Linked DNA regions of Homo sapiens: regions 2, 3, 4 and 5 are each linked to region 1. The links are contacts of gene promoters, found by promoter capture Hi-C in blood cells and fetal thymus (Javierre and others, 2016). All regions are on one chromosome and are shown on one strand. Each heading gives the region's core, a stretch centred on a gene start or on the middle of the fragment in contact. The rest is flanking DNA. Distances are from core to core; before and after follow the strand shown.

What was found. Contacts are between HindIII fragments. The CHiCAGO score rates a contact against its expected background, and 5 or more counts as called.
Region 2: a contact is called between a fragment that was not itself captured here and the fragment with the promoter of NFX1 in region 1, in 2 of 17 cell types (fetal thymus and erythroblasts). The highest score is 6.5, in fetal thymus.
Region 3: a contact is called between a fragment that was not itself captured here and the fragment with the promoter of NFX1 in region 1, in 1 of 17 cell types (monocytes). The highest score is 5.0, in monocytes.
Region 4: a fragment that was not itself captured here is called in contact with the fragment with the promoter of NFX1 in region 1 in 3 of 17 cell types (monocytes, neutrophils and naive B cells); the score reaches 9.5 in monocytes.
Region 5: a contact is called between a fragment that was not itself captured here and the fragment with the promoter of NFX1 in region 1, in 17 of 17 cell types (naive B cells, total B cells, monocytes and 14 more). The highest score is 23.1, in naive B cells.

Annotation. Positions count from the first base shown.
Region 1 is chr9:33,289,111-33,291,999 of GRCh38, reverse strand. It overlaps NFX1 (nuclear transcription factor, X-box binding 1), which reads right to left and starts at 1,484. Exons shown (of 24, transcript NM_002504.6): 1 at 1,403-1,484. The coding sequence starts at 1,427. It also overlaps the pseudogene LOC100862682. RefSeq lists enhancers at 1,209-1,258, 240-1,439, 1,409-1,458, 1,469-1,888, 2,594-2,889. The HindIII fragment of the contact is 6,050 bases long and covers 1-2,889 here.
Region 2 is chr9:33,720,439-33,723,327 of GRCh38, reverse strand. No RefSeq gene overlaps it. Among named protein-coding and RNA genes, the nearest start is that of PTENP1-AS, 45 kb to the right of the region's middle. RefSeq lists enhancers at 818-1,317, 1,318-1,819. The HindIII fragment of the contact is 2,180 bases long and covers 262-2,441 here.
Region 3 is chr9:32,983,838-32,986,726 of GRCh38, reverse strand. It overlaps APTX (aprataxin), which reads left to right. Exons shown (of 8, transcript NM_001195248.2): 5 at 697-756; 6 at 1,870-2,096. Among named protein-coding and RNA genes, the nearest start is that of APTX, 16 kb to the left of the region's middle. The HindIII fragment of the contact is 1,664 bases long and covers 575-2,238 here.
Region 4 is chr9:33,003,184-33,006,072 of GRCh38, reverse strand. It overlaps a transcript of APTX not described here. Among named protein-coding and RNA genes, the nearest start is that of APTX, 3.0 kb to the right of the region's middle. The HindIII fragment of the contact is 833 bases long and covers 1,026-1,858 here.
Region 5 is chr9:33,027,739-33,030,627 of GRCh38, reverse strand. DNAJA1 (DnaJ heat shock protein family (Hsp40) member A1) reads right to left here. Exons shown (of 9, transcript NM_001539.4): 4 at 639-743; 5 at 1-188. Among named protein-coding and RNA genes, the nearest start is that of DNAJA1, 3.9 kb to the right of the region's middle. The HindIII fragment of the contact is 755 bases long and covers 1,116-1,870 here.

The DNA.
Region 1 (2,889 bases), core at 235-2,734:
TACCCAGCCCAAAAAGTTTTCCAACCCCAAGGAAGACTTAATATCCACATCAAGACTAGGGTACACCAATGCAGTGTGTTTTCCAACTTTTTTTTTTGAGACGAAGTCACACTCTGTCGCCCAGGCTGGAGTGCAGTGGCACGATCTTGGCTCACTGCAACTTCCGCCTCCAGGGTTCAAGCAATTCTCTTGCCTCAGCCTCCGGAGTAGCTGGGACTACAGGCGCGTGCCACCATGCCCAGCTAATTTTTTGTATTTTTAGTAGAGACGGGGTTTCACCGTGTTAGCCAGGATGGTCTCGATCTCCTGACCTCGTGATCCGTCCACCTCGGCCTCCCAAAGTGCTAGGATTACAGGCGTGAGCCACCACGCCCGGCCCTAACTTTTTAAACTAAGAACCATAGTAATAAATACATTTTACCTGCCACCCAGTATACAAATACATATATGGTCTTCTTGGTGCCCCAACGGCTGGTCAGGGACAGAGCTGAGATTCAAACCAATGGTTTCCAAACTCCATTCTGCAAACTGCTGCCCTGTTTTCCAGAGTGGGCCATAAAATCAAATGAAGGCAGTGGGCTGTGACATATTTTTAAACGAAACAGAAAACAGAATATATTGCTGATTGTAAAACAAACCAACCAACCTCACTGCTTCCAGAAACTTCTGGTTCGCTTTTATATTTATGTAAGTGTACAATATTTAAGGTCGCGATGCAAAATGTTTCTTTTGGTTGCTGTCCAACACATTTGGAAAACACTGATCTATGGAACACCCTGAGGAAATGGATGTTATATCAACGAACAAATGAGGCTGTCTCTACACACTGAGGCAACTCCAGGAGGGGGAGTGAGTGAACAATTACAGAATAGGTACAGTACAGGGCGGGAGCCATCACAGGAATTAACTTATCTACTCCCAACTGACAGATGAGGAGACTGAGACTGAGTCACACGGGGTTCGCAGCAGGCTGAGACTCTAAACTACTGGAATTCGGCTCGCGCCCACGCCACCACTCCAGGCGGTATGAGCACACCACACCCTACACGTCAAGAGCCCGCCACCGTCACTGGCTGTGACCTGGCCGACGCCCGCCTGTCGAAGGTCAGTGCGCCGCTGCCCCAGAAACAGCCTGTGGGAAGGCAGGGCACCCACATCGACTCGCAGCGCCGGGACAAGTCCTCTCTCCTCCGAAACCCAGCTACTGGGCTTCACCATCTAGTCCAAGAAGACACAGATCTTCGTACGCACGATGCGCGGGGCTTGGCCCTTCCGAGCCACTATCCTACGCCCTAGCATGTGCTACTCTCGCGATATGAGTGGCTGAGGCCCTAGAACTTCGTCACTGACCCAATTTCCGCTCCCTGAAAGGGGCCCAGTCCCGCTCGGGCCGGGACAATACCTGAGACAGGAGGCGCCTCCGCCATCCCGTGCCGCAGAACCTAGATCGAGCTGTACAGCCAAGTCAGCACTGTCACCAGGTCACGTGCCCCGGACTTCCGGCGCCGCGAGAATATTCGCATCTGCGCGCCGTGTAGACGGCCACAGAGGTTGCGCAGCCCGAATCTGTGTGGCGCGTTCGTGACGTCAGATAGACGCGCCAGGTGTCGGGCGGGAGGAGGAGACTAGTAGCTGGATGGAAATAGCAACAATCGCAGGAGGGAGGGCGGCGACTTGCGTAATCATTGTGGTTTTCCTTTTTTTATTTTTTGATATAGGGTCTTGCTGCCTTACCCAGGCTTGAGTGCAGTGGTCTGATCATGGCTCACTATAGCTTCAGTCTCTAATCCTCCCGCCTCAGCCTTCCGGTAGCTGGAACTACAGGCGGAGCCACCATGCGCAGCTATTTTTAGTAGAGACGGGTTTCGCCATGTTGCCCAGGCTAGTCTCTCCAACTCCTGGCCTCAAGCGATCCTGCCGCTTTGGCCTCCTAAAGTGCTTGGCTTACAGGCGAGCCACCACGCCTGGCTCCAGACTTTTTTTTTTTTTTTTTTTTTTACAAAGGCGTTTATTCTCATCAGTATCACCGATATTCTCATGGTTCACATTTGCCAACGCCGCTCCTCTCCTTACAGTAGTTAAATGTGCAATCTCACTTGGGGGCCCAGGGAGGGGTGGGGGCTCGGCCCAGGGTGGGGAGGGCGTTGGCACTTCACGTGGACAGGGTGGGCAGCCTGTCCTGCGTGAAAGAGGTGTGGGTGAGTGGGCGGCCAGGGAAGGGGAGTTGGCAGGGGAGGGCCCCGCAGTCTTTTTTTCTTTGGTGGTTGGTGATTCTCCATTCAGATTCCTTCCTGGCTTCCCAGGGTAGGGGAACCATGCAGCTCAGGGCAGGGCAGGGGAGGAAGAGAAGGAAAAAGCAGCAGGCCGCCCGGGGGGAAAGGTGGAGGGTGAACGGCAGGGCAAGGGGGAACGGGTGGCTCCTGAGGTAAGGCACAACCCTGTCTTTGGCTTTCCTGGTGAGGAGTTTCCTCCCCTGCACCCCCTGCCCGACGCTTCTCCCCACCCCCCCACCCCCCAGACCCACACACAGTCCCAGGAGCCAGGGGGCACCACCTCCTGGGGTCCCTGAAACAAGTGGGCTCTGCCACCCAAGCCAGTGCCGCAGGGGCTCGAGGAGGGACACCCGAGGAAAAGGCAGAGAGGGGCAGGCAGGGGCCTACCCAGGACAAGGGGGTGGGGGTGAGAAGACCCTAGGCCCAGGAGCTGGGCCCCCCGCCCCAACTAAGTCCTGGAAGTGGGGGAGCACCTGCTTCCTTTCGGGGGTCTGGCTGGAGCCCCGGTCTGCCCCTTGGCCTCCGTCAGGCCCAGCCACTTGCCAAGTGACCAGGGCATTGTGCTTTGGGGTAAACGCTGGGGTGGGGTGGCAGGCCAGGAGGCAGGGGGAGAGGA
Region 2 (2,889 bases), core at 102-2,601, 430 kb before region 1:
TATTTTTTGGCCTGACTATTTTTGCCTCAGATTTGAGAGTCCCTCCTATGATGTTTATCTGGTTGTTTGTCTTTTTCATTGCCCAGTAATATTTCATTGTATGGATGTAGTATCGTTGATTCTCCTGTTAATTGGCATTTGGGTTGTTCAAAGTTTTGGGCTTTTCTGAATAATCTTGAAAGTACTTGAGAGGCTGTAAAAAAGAGGTTCTGATATTCCTGGCAAAACTTTCTGCTGGGAAGAGGAATAGATCCTGAAGCTTCAGATTTTACTGGCGATAATGAAAGAGCATCTTTGAAAGTGTGTAGCATGCGGCAGACATTCAATAAATGTTAGTGGAGTCTCACTTTGGCAGAATTCTGTTTCTAGGATCTGTGCCCAGAAATAGATCGTCTTTTACAGAAAGGTCAGAATCAACCATTCTAGAGAAAATTTAAAAATACCTCAGAGAGATTCTGTCTTCTCATTTGATAAATCCATTTCAGGAATATTTCACAATTCTAACAATTAGAAAAAAATGGCTATGTGATATTTTTATGTTATACTTTAAAGTCTACCTATTATATATATTATCTTACTTCATACACATTTAATTTTCATTTTATGCACATTGTTTTATTTAACTTTTGCTACAATGCTGCAAGGTAAATGTACTTCTACTTTACAGATAAGGACAAATGAGGCTTGGAAATGCTAAGTAACTTTCCTAGCTCACAAAGCTAGTAAGAATTTGATCGCAGTTGCCTGACTCCAAAATGCATGCGTTTTCCTCTGCAATGTGCGGCCCCACCATGTTCACACCTCACTACAGACAGGAAGCACATATTATTCAGATAATCGCTACCCATTTTCCATTCATCCTCGTTTTTCCAGTGAGCAAAACATCTTGTACAGTCACTTTCTTTTTTCATTTCAGAAGTACACTTTGAATAGGCTCAATATGGCCTGATTTAAGCAAGCAGAAGGAAAAATCCTTACAAAGTCTGTGTGGGCCAATCAGCAATGAGATGGAGCATTCGGCAGATGGCGCTGTTTCCACACGAGTGTAACGGCGGCCACAAGCGTTCTGCCGCCAGGGGGCGCCGCGTTCCGCCGGAGAAGCGTGGCTACCAGATTCGCGGCCCAGCACGGGCTGCAGGGCCCACGCCTCCTTGGCGGTGCGTTCTTTCCCTCCAGGTGGGACGCTGCAGGCCCAGCAGCTCCCTGTGCCTCCAGATAGCCAGGGCTCTCACGTGGATAGGCTGCTGGACCAAGCTCAGTCCAGCAGGCCGGCTTCAACAGCTTCTGCTCAGCTATCCCGGACAGCACAGGACTGTGCAGAGCCTCCCCTAAACCTCATTCTTTTCAAGGGCAAAGGGAAGCACAGCAGCGTTTGCCTTTTCTTGCCAAGTTAGCACGGAGGAAGTTTCATCAGGGAGAGGCAGGGGCCTCAGAACAGGGAGGCCGCAGGGCGGCCTCGGCAGGTGAGTGCTGGCAGCCCGTGGCCTGAGACGTTAAGCACTGTGGGGAGAAATGGAGAAAGAAGCTCCTTGAACATTAGGCCCACTCCGGTGTGTGAAGCAACTGGCCCTTGAGATGAGAGCAGCCTGGTCTTCCCTTCTTGGTGAGGCTTGGGCCTTTTACATATTCCCACACAATGGAAATACGCAACCACTTCCAACTGGGTCCCAAATTCTCAAATGTCTCGACTACAGGACTCTAGGGACACAGCCTCCTCCTTAAGGATTTGTGAGATGTCTGTAAAGAAAAGGAAAATTTGTGAACCTTCTCAGAAGAAGCCACAAAAGAATACTTAGAGGCAAAAAATTACTCAGGCTGACATTTGAGAGGCTCTGGTTCACTGGTTCAGGCCCCCTTCCCAGGCTGACAAGGGTTGAGAGGCTCTGGAAGGACAGAGTCCACGGGAGCTGTGCTCTTCTGCGAATTCCGTCCAGCCATATTCCTCCACACCTGCAAAGTGGTGGAGAATGTTCTCTGCTTCACTCCACCCCAACTTGGGCATTGGAACAATGACTTCCTCATTGGGTTTTGGTAGTTTTTCCATTATGTTTTAATTTTGCCCTTTATATGAAGTGCTATATTTTGTTTTAGAATAGGCATTACATTGGCTCAAAAATCAATTCACACAGAAAGGTATACAGTGAAGTCTTACTTCCACCCCAGTTACAATCTCCTCCACATATGTGCACAGCTAATTCATTTTACTAGTATCTAGGGTACCCTTTACCAGAGTTTCTTTAAGATACTGCAAGATAGCTTAATCGCATTGCAATCTTGCATACCAAATTATATGCAAATTATGCATATAATTATGCAGACCAAAGTCTGACAGGTGCAGACCCTTGCGTATTCTCACTGAGTGTCTCCTGGGCTGCTCCTGCTGACAACCCCCTCTCCTCTCTCTATGTGATCTAGATCCATTTGAGAATCCTATGAAAGCTTTGGACCTTTCCTGAGGAAAATGCACCTAGGCACACACCTATACACATTGGCATTCAATTTTGGTGGGGGTTATGGGCTCTGTGAAGCCCATCTGTACCCTTGGTGATCACACCCCCCTTCTAAACTGTTATCTATTTAGAGCTCTGGGCAGGCACTTGGCTGAAAGCATTATGCTTCCTTTCAGAGGGAAGTTTCAGCAGGGCAAAGCCTGTATTACTGATCTCTGCTGTTTACAGAGATCTCAGTCTCTCCTCGGACCGAGGGGCATTGGTGCAGTGGAGCTGGGACCTGAGCTGGATCCTAGCTCTTAGGTAGAGTCCTGAGACTTTCATATGTCCTTTCCACAAAGTGAGTCTCACGAACAGACCTTATCCCGGAGGGTCACGGCTTTTTTCACAGAGATGGACATTGAGAGATAAGCACCCCAGGAACTACACAATTACAGTT
Region 3 (2,889 bases), core at 157-2,656, 310 kb after region 1:
GAGTTCGAGACCAGCCTGACCAACATGGCAAAACCTAATCTCTACTAAAAATACAAAATTAGCTGGGCGTGGTGGTGCATGCCTATAATCCCAGCAACTCCAGAGGCTGGGCAGGAGCATCGCTTGAACCCGGGAGGCAGAGGTTGCAGTGAGCCGAGATCACGCCATTGTACTCCAGCCTGGGCAACAAGAGCGAAACCCCATCTCAAAAAAAAAAAGAAAGAATATAGGGTCGGGTGTGGTGGCTCACGCCTGTAATCCCAGCACTTGGGGAGGTGGAGGCCAGTGGATCACCTGAGGTGAGGAGTTCAAGACCAGCATGGCCAACCTGGTGAAACTCCGTCTCTACTAAAAAATACAAAAGTTAGCTGGGCGTGGTGGTGGGCACCTGTAATCCCAGCTACTTGGGAGGCTGAGGCAGGAGAATCACTTCGGAGGTTGCAGTGATCACGCCGCTGCACTCCAGCTTGGGTGAGACAGAGTGAGACTTTGTCTCAAAAAAAAAGAGAATATAGGAAGGCAATGGAGTGAAGCAGAGTCAAGTGAATCTTGTTTAATTCTCAAAAACTAAGCTTATTTCCAAGTTTAGTTGTGCTATCACACAGTATTAACTGTTGCCAAATTTAATTATTGGCATTTGTAATTTACATTGCTTGTTTTTTTTTTTTTTTGTTTTTTTTTTTGTTTTTTTTTTAGGAATCCCTGGGCCACTGGAGTCAAGGCTTGAAGATTTCTATGCAGGACCCCAAAATGCAGGTCAGAATACAATTTTGGAATTTCAGTACATTTCATGTTGTAAATGACCACTCCACAGAGGTCTTAATTACAAATGAAATCAAAGGATATCAGTCTTTCTGAATGAGATTCATTTTATTGGGCTGTTCTGTGAGAACAAGAGGCTTTTCACATTGGCAATAAAGTAGCAGCTGTCATTGTTTGGAGAGAAAGCTGAGTTCTTCAAATGAATATCCCCTCTGCCTTGTGCCTTTTAAACTTCTGGGTACTTTAAGGGAAGTTGCATTAACCTTAGTATGGTTCCTTTCAGGGGAGCATCAGAGATAATACACTGTGACAGTAGTACTGTGCTGCCCTGGCATTAACAGTCAGACATCCCTGTAATCCCAGCACTTTGGGAGGCCGAGACGGGAGGATCACCTGAGGTCAGGAGTTCGAGATCAGCCTGACCAACATGGAGAAACCCTGTCTCTACTAAAAATACAAAAAATTAGCTGGGCATGGTGGTGCATGCCTGTAATCTCAGCTACTCGAGAGGCTGAGGCAGGAGAATCACTTGAATCCGGGAGGTGGAGGTTGCGGTGAGCTGAGATTGCACCATTGTACTCCAGCCTGGGCAACAAGAGCGAAACTCCATCTCAAAAAAAAAAAAAAAAAAAAAAAAACAGGCATCATCCTTGAGGAGCCTTTGAGTCCCACTTCAATTATATTCCTTGTTGACAAGGGGCAGGTCTAATAGGGCTCACTGGAACCCACGTGTACGTGTCACACAGTCTGCCATGTTGGAGTGGAGAAGGATGCTTTTGAATTTATGTCTACAGAGATTTTACATCACATTCTTGGGAACTATTTTGTACTGTGCATCTTCTGTGTATTCTGTGTAGTGTGGTGGTTGAAAACAGACTCTGGAGTCAACCACATCTGAGTTGGAATCCTAGATTTCCCTCTTAGGAACTATGACTTGTGCAAGACACTCAACCTGTCTGAATTTCAGTGCTCTCCTCTCTCAAAACTGGGCTATTAAAACCATTTGCACAAGACTGTGGGAATTAAGTGACTTAGTGAATATAACAACCAGGCACACAGAAGATTCTTAGTAGATGTCTGTTTCCTTCTCTTGTATCCCTCTGCTAGGTTTACAAAGATGAGCAGGTGGTGGTGATAAAGGATAAATACCCAAAGGCCCGTTACCATTGGCTGGTCTTACCGTGGACCTCCATTTCCAGTCTGAAGGCTGTGGCCAGGGAACACCTTGAACTCCTTAAGCATATGCACACTGTGGGGGAAAAGGTGATTGTAGATTTTGCTGGGTCCAGCAAACTCCGCTTCCGATTGGGCTACCACGCCATTCCGAGTATGAGGTAAGCCAGGTGGGTAGTGCTGCTGGCTCCTGGTTCTGTCCAGGTGGGCAGATAGATTCAGCCTGGGCTTGCTGAGGGCACATATTGCACTGAGACCCAGGGAAGTGGGATGGAGTTTTTCCAAAGCAGGTGGGCTGAAGCTTCCACCTCTCTGCCTGACTTGCATGCAAGCTTTGAGTTCCCACTTCTGCCTATAATTCAGTCATATTTGGTTCTTTGTTCCTCTCAAAATATAAATCTTCGAGAGCCTAATATATGAACTAGATGAAGCAGCTTCATTATCCTCAGATAAAGAATTGTGGTCAGTGGCTTTTATCAGATTCTTCAAAAGCGTCTATAACCCCAGAATGATTAAGGACCATTACTCTGAAGGAAACAAACATCATAGACTTCTGTAATGACAGCGTAGTAGATCCAGGATTTGAAAATAAAATGAGAGAAAAGTATAGAATTTGTTTTCCTGTGGCTTATGCCCAGAAGGATTCAGAAAGGAATGACTGATTTCTTTCAAAGAATACAAGCAAGGTGGATCTCCGTGATTTCTTTGATTTAAGCAATAAGATGATAAGTCTAGATTTTAGAGTTTTTATTTTGTTTTTAAAAAACTGTGATATAATATACATAACAAAATTTACATTTTAGTCATCTTTAAGTGTACAATTCATTGGCATTACTATATTCATATTACTATGCAACCATTACTACCATCTATCTCCAGAACTGTTTTCTCTTCCCAAATTGAAACTCTGTACCTTAAATAATAACTCTCCATTTCCCCCTCCCACTCCTGGCA
Region 4 (2,889 bases), core at 193-2,692, 290 kb after region 1:
AAACAACAAAACCCTGAGCAGAGTAGCCAAAAACAATCTTGAAAAAAAAAAGAATAAAGTTCTTATACTTCCTGATTTCAAAAAGTATTACAAAGCTATAGTAATCAAAACAGTGCAGTACTAGTGTAAAGACAGACATACAGACTGATGGAATACAATAGAAATCCCAGAAGTAAATCCTTGCATAAATGATTAAATGATATTCAGTAAGTATGTCAATACCATTCAGTGAGGAAAGGGCAGTCTTTTCAACAAATGATATTGTTAAAATCTGGGTATCCACATGCAAAAAATTGAAGTTGGAGCCTTACCTTACATAGTACAGAAAATGAACTCAAGGCCAGGCACAGTGTCTCACACCTGTAATGTCAGCACTTTGGGAGGCTGAGGCAGGAGGATTGCTTGAGCCCAGGAGTTCAAGATCAGCCTGGGCAACATAGCAAGACCTCTGTCTCTATTAAAAAAAAAATTAGCCAGGCTTGGTGGGACATGCTTGTAGTCCCAGCTACTTGGGAGGCTGAGGTGGGAGGATTGTTTGAGTCTGGGTGGTCAAGGCTGCAGTAAGCTGTGATTGCATCACTGCACTCCAGCCTGGGCAACAGAGCAAGACTCTGTCTCACAAAAACAAAAACAAAAACAAAAAACAAAAAAATAAAACCACACCTCAAAAATGGATCAAAGACCTAAACATAAGACCTAAAACTATAAAACTCTTAGAAAACATAAGGGAAAAGTTTCATGACAGATTTGGCAATGTTTTCTTGGATATAACACCAAAAGACAGGCAGCAAAAGTAAAAATAGGTAAATTAAAGTACTTCACAATTAAGTTTTGTGCATCCAGGGATACAGCCAGCAAGCAGAGTGAAAAGCACCCTATGAAATGGGAATCTTATATTTGATCAGAGGTCAATATCCAGAATATATAAAGAACTCCTACAACAAAACAAAACAAAAATAACCCCATTAAAAAATGAAGTACTTGAATAGACATTTCTCCAAATACATACAAATAGACAGGAAGCTTATGAAAAGATCAACATCACTAATCATTAGGGAAATACAAAGCAAAACCACAATGAGATACCATTTCACACCCATTAGGATGGCTGCTATCAAAAAAAAGTAACAAGCGGCCGGGCGCAGTGGCTCACACCTGTAATCCCAGCACTTTGGGAGGCCGAGGTGGGTGGATCACAAGGTCAGGAGTTTGAGATCAGCCTGGCCAATATGGTGAAACCCCATCTCTTCTAAAAAAAAAAAAAATACAAAAATTACCCGGGTGTGGTGGCAGGCACCTGTAGTCCCAGCTACTCAGGAGGCTGAGGCAGGAGAATCGCCTTAAGCCGCGAGGTGGAGGTTGCAGGGAGCCGAGATTGCACCACTGCACTCCAGCCTGGGTGACAGAGCGAGACTCCATCTCAAAAAAAAAAAAAAAAAAAAGGGTTGGCAAGAATGTGGAGAAATTGGAACTCTTGTACACTATTGGTAGAAATGTAAAATCATCCAGCTGCTATGGAAAACAGTGTGACAGTTCCTCAAAATATTAAAAATGGAATTACCATATAATCCAGCAGTTTCACTTCTGTGTATATATTCAAAATAATTGAAAGAAGAATTTTTAAAAATTGTTTCACATTAAAAACAAATTTCAGTGGCTTTAGGGGTACAAATGGTTTTTGGTTTCATGGATGAAGTGTATAATGGTGAAGTCTGAAATTTTAGTGTACCTATCACCCGAGTAATAGTTACACCCAATATGTAGTTTTTTAAAATCTCTCATCTTCCTCCCACTCTCTCCACTTCTGAATCTCCAATGAACATTATACCACTCTGTATGCCTTTACATACCCAAAGCTTAGCTGCCAATTATAAGTGAGAACATGTGGTATTTGGTTTTCCATTCCTGAGTTACTTCACTTAGAAAAATGGCCTCCAGTTCCATTCAAGTTGCTTCAAAAGACATTATTTCATTCTTCTTTATGGCTGAGTAGTATTCTGTGGTGTATATGTACGACATTTTCTTTATGCATTCATCAGTTCATGGGCATTTAGGTTGGTTCCATGTTCTTGCAATTGCAAATTGTGAAAACAGGATCTCAAAGAGATATTTATACACTCATGTTCATAGCAGCATTATTCACAATAGCCAAATGGTGGAATATCCACGGGTGGATGAATGGATAAAGTATGGTGTGTACATGCAATGGAGTGTTATTCAGCTTTAAAAAGGAACTTTTTACACATGATACAATGTGGATGAAACTTGAGGACATTATATTAAGTGAAATAAGCCAGTCGCAAATGGGCAAATACTGTCTGATTTTACTTACATGAGGTACCTAGAGTGGTCAGACTCATGAAAACTGTAAGTAGAATGGTGGTTGCCAGGTGGGGGAGGGAAAATAGGGAGCTATTTAATCGATACGGAGTTTTTTTTTTGAGGCAGAGTCTTGCTCTATCGCCCAGGCTGGAGTGCAGTGGAGTGATCTTGGCTCACTGCAACCTCTACCTCCCGGGTTCAAGCAATTCTTCTGCTTCAGCCTCCCAAGTAGCTGGGACTACAGGCGAGTTCCGCCACGCCAGGCTGGTCTTGAACTCCTGACCTCAGGTAATCCACCTGCGTTGGCCTCCCAAAGTGCTGGGATTACAGGTGTGAGCCACCGTGCCTGGCCGAGTTTCAGTTTTTCAAGATGAAAAAGTTCTGGTGATTAGCATGGCAATATGAAGTGCCTGAAAGTCTTCACTGCCTGCCATACCTTTAGCTATACATTGTGCCATGTGATCTTGCTTTTCTGGCCACTAATACACTATAGACAATGGACTAGGCCTAACAAGCAGGACGTGGAAACTCTGCCCAATTTTGCACATTATATAGTGAATGATGTAA
Region 5 (2,889 bases), core at 244-2,743, 260 kb after region 1:
TATCTTCCTTCCGTTGCAGCTTTTACATCTATCTTTAGGACTGATCCGCTCCCCATGGCCCTGGCACTCCATGCACACAGACTGAATTTGCTGAACCATTCCAGGTCCTATCTGATGAATTCTTATTTGCATTCCAGTACCTCGGCAATTGGGACAGCACTCTACTGCTCCTTTCTTACCTCCTCTACCTAAATTTAAAAAGAAAATTAAATAATGTATGAATTAGTAGTGTATACAGTAGTAAATGTTTTAAGAAGACAATTCCTAAATGCTATACTTTTAATATTTTCGAAGCCTGATGGAATGCTACCCTCTGAATGTACAACTGATGAGATCATTCCAATGAGTTTCATTCTTATTAGAACACACTTTCCAATAAATTTTACTTATTACAAAAAAGATACCAAACTAGCTTGATCCCAACTGTATTTAAAATATACACAGAAAAAAGTGCTGATATTTCTTTAGGTGGGAGGTTTTCAGTTGGTTTTCTTCATATCTGCCCTCTCCTCCCCCAAAATCTAGGTAGTGTACATGAATCAATTTTACATATCTATCTAGAAGTCTTAGCTCCATTTTCAGGTGTCATATTAAAGGTGCTTAAAAACAAAACAAAACAAAACAAAAAAACACCGTACCTTCACATTTGTCACAAATCACATTCTTTTGCAGAGCCAGTTTTCTTGTTGCACCATTATATAAGTCTTCTAGGGTTACTGAGAGCTGATGTACAACATTTTTACCTAAAACAAAATATTTCTCATTGCAAATCTGTTTAAGATGCTGGATCTTATTTGTGCTAAAGGCACTATAAAGAATGTGGCAAAGAATAATAAAAGATGAGCCTCACAGGGTACATCTGTTGACTACCTACTATATACACAGAATGTTCACGTTATCACAGATGATCCTCAAACTGTGATGTAATCACAGATGAGGGAAAATCAGGTCAGAGATTAAATATTTGCTTAAGGGCACAGACGTGGCCATCTTGGAAATATGGTAAGCAAAAGCATTACCTTCAAAGTCACTTGAGAAAAACCAATGTTATTTAAAAGGGCACATTTCACAATAATCCAAACATTCATTTCTGTCACAATATATTTTTTGAAGCTTTCACTTCGTACCGTATTGAGCAACATGGCCAATTACTTCATCCAAAAATTCTGTAGCACAGTAAATTCTCATTAATCAAGATTGGCCAGGGAAGCTGATGTATTTATTGAGTCACCACAGAAGAGTATCAATTTCTACTTCTTCCTGATTTAGTAGAAAACAGCCCATTTACTGCTGGGCCAGCACTGGTTGTTTTGAAGGCCAAATTTCTCATACCTTTTATAATAGCATTGCCCAACAGAACTTTCTGCAGTGATAAATGTTTTATATCTGTTCTGTCCAACGTAGCAGCCACCAATCACATGTGCTTATTGAGCATGTAAATGTGGCCATTTAGACTAAGAAACCGTATTTTTGTTTTTGTCTTAAATTAATGGAGCCACACATGGCCAGTGGCTACTAAGGAGTGCCTTACTTCACTTAAATCAGAATAGGAAATGGAAGGTCAAGATCTCATAAGGACACTGAGGTTAGAAGTATGAAGTCACCTGCTAGTAAGTTAGTAAGTTCCTAACTAGTGGTCCTTCCACAAGGACTTATTCACAACAATATTATTGCCTTTCCACCAACTGAAAAAAGTTCTCAAACTCGTTTCTGTACAATATGCCTAATGAACATTTTAACTTTCTAATCAAGCATGAAATACCATTAATTATGTCCTTCTGCTTATAGTTCCACCTTTAGTTTTGGCACGCTAAAATCTAGCTGCCCTTATTTTGAACAGTGTTGAGTATAAGGAAGGAAAAATAAAGCTTCTAGAGCTTGATGAAGCGCATTTCCCCAGAAATAACCTCTCAATATGATCATAAGCCACATAAAAGAGCTTGCCAATGTTAACCTGCAGGTTCTTTGTAAGGTAAGTGAAAAACCACCACTACTTTTTTGTGGACAAATTCTAACAATTTACTAAGCAAGTCATTTGGATTGTGGACTTTCTTTTTAAGGAGTTTAAGTATCTTAATAAAAACATAATCCTTTCCTTGAAGATCTTTAAAGAAAAACTGAATAAACAATTTCCCAAATCTTTCTGAACCTTAAGAAGCTCAAAGTGAAATTTAATGGCTTGGCCATTCATTCTAAAACTGGTTCTGCTCATCAGCCCTTATTTGTATACACTATACTGGAAATAAAGTGAGACTGATTTCTCTTGAACATTTTACTCCTATAAGCAGTATTTCTAGAGCCCATAGGCCACTTTCCTGATAAACATATTAAATACATAATTTTGACACAATAAAGCTGAAACAAGAATAGATAGATGGCAGGCAACGAACCAGTTTTCAGCCCTGGCTCTGTTGGCTTGCTATATGAGCTTGAAGAAGTTTTAGGTTTCTGAACTTTAACTTACTCCCATTTGAAAAAGGCCACTGTACCTACCATCAAATTCCTTTGGGGAGTGAGGGAACACCAAATAAGATCTGTAAAAAGGGCTTGGAAAATTATATTGCTATATACTTTGTCTTTTTTTTTTTTTTTTTTTTTTTTTGAGACAAGAGTCTCGCTGTGTTGCTCAGGCTGGAGTGTAATTGGGCGATCTCAGCTCACTGCAACCTCCACCTCCCGGGTTCAAGCGACTCTCCTGCTTCAGCCCTCCTGAGTAACTGGGATTACAGGCACGCACCACCATGCCTGGCTAATTTTTGGATTTTTTTGGGTTTTTTGTGACAGAGATTCACTCTTGTTGCCCAGGCTGGAGTGCAGTGGCGTGACCTCCGTTCGCTGCAACCTCTGCCTCCAGGGTTCAAGCGATTCTCCTGCCTCAGCCTCCAGAGG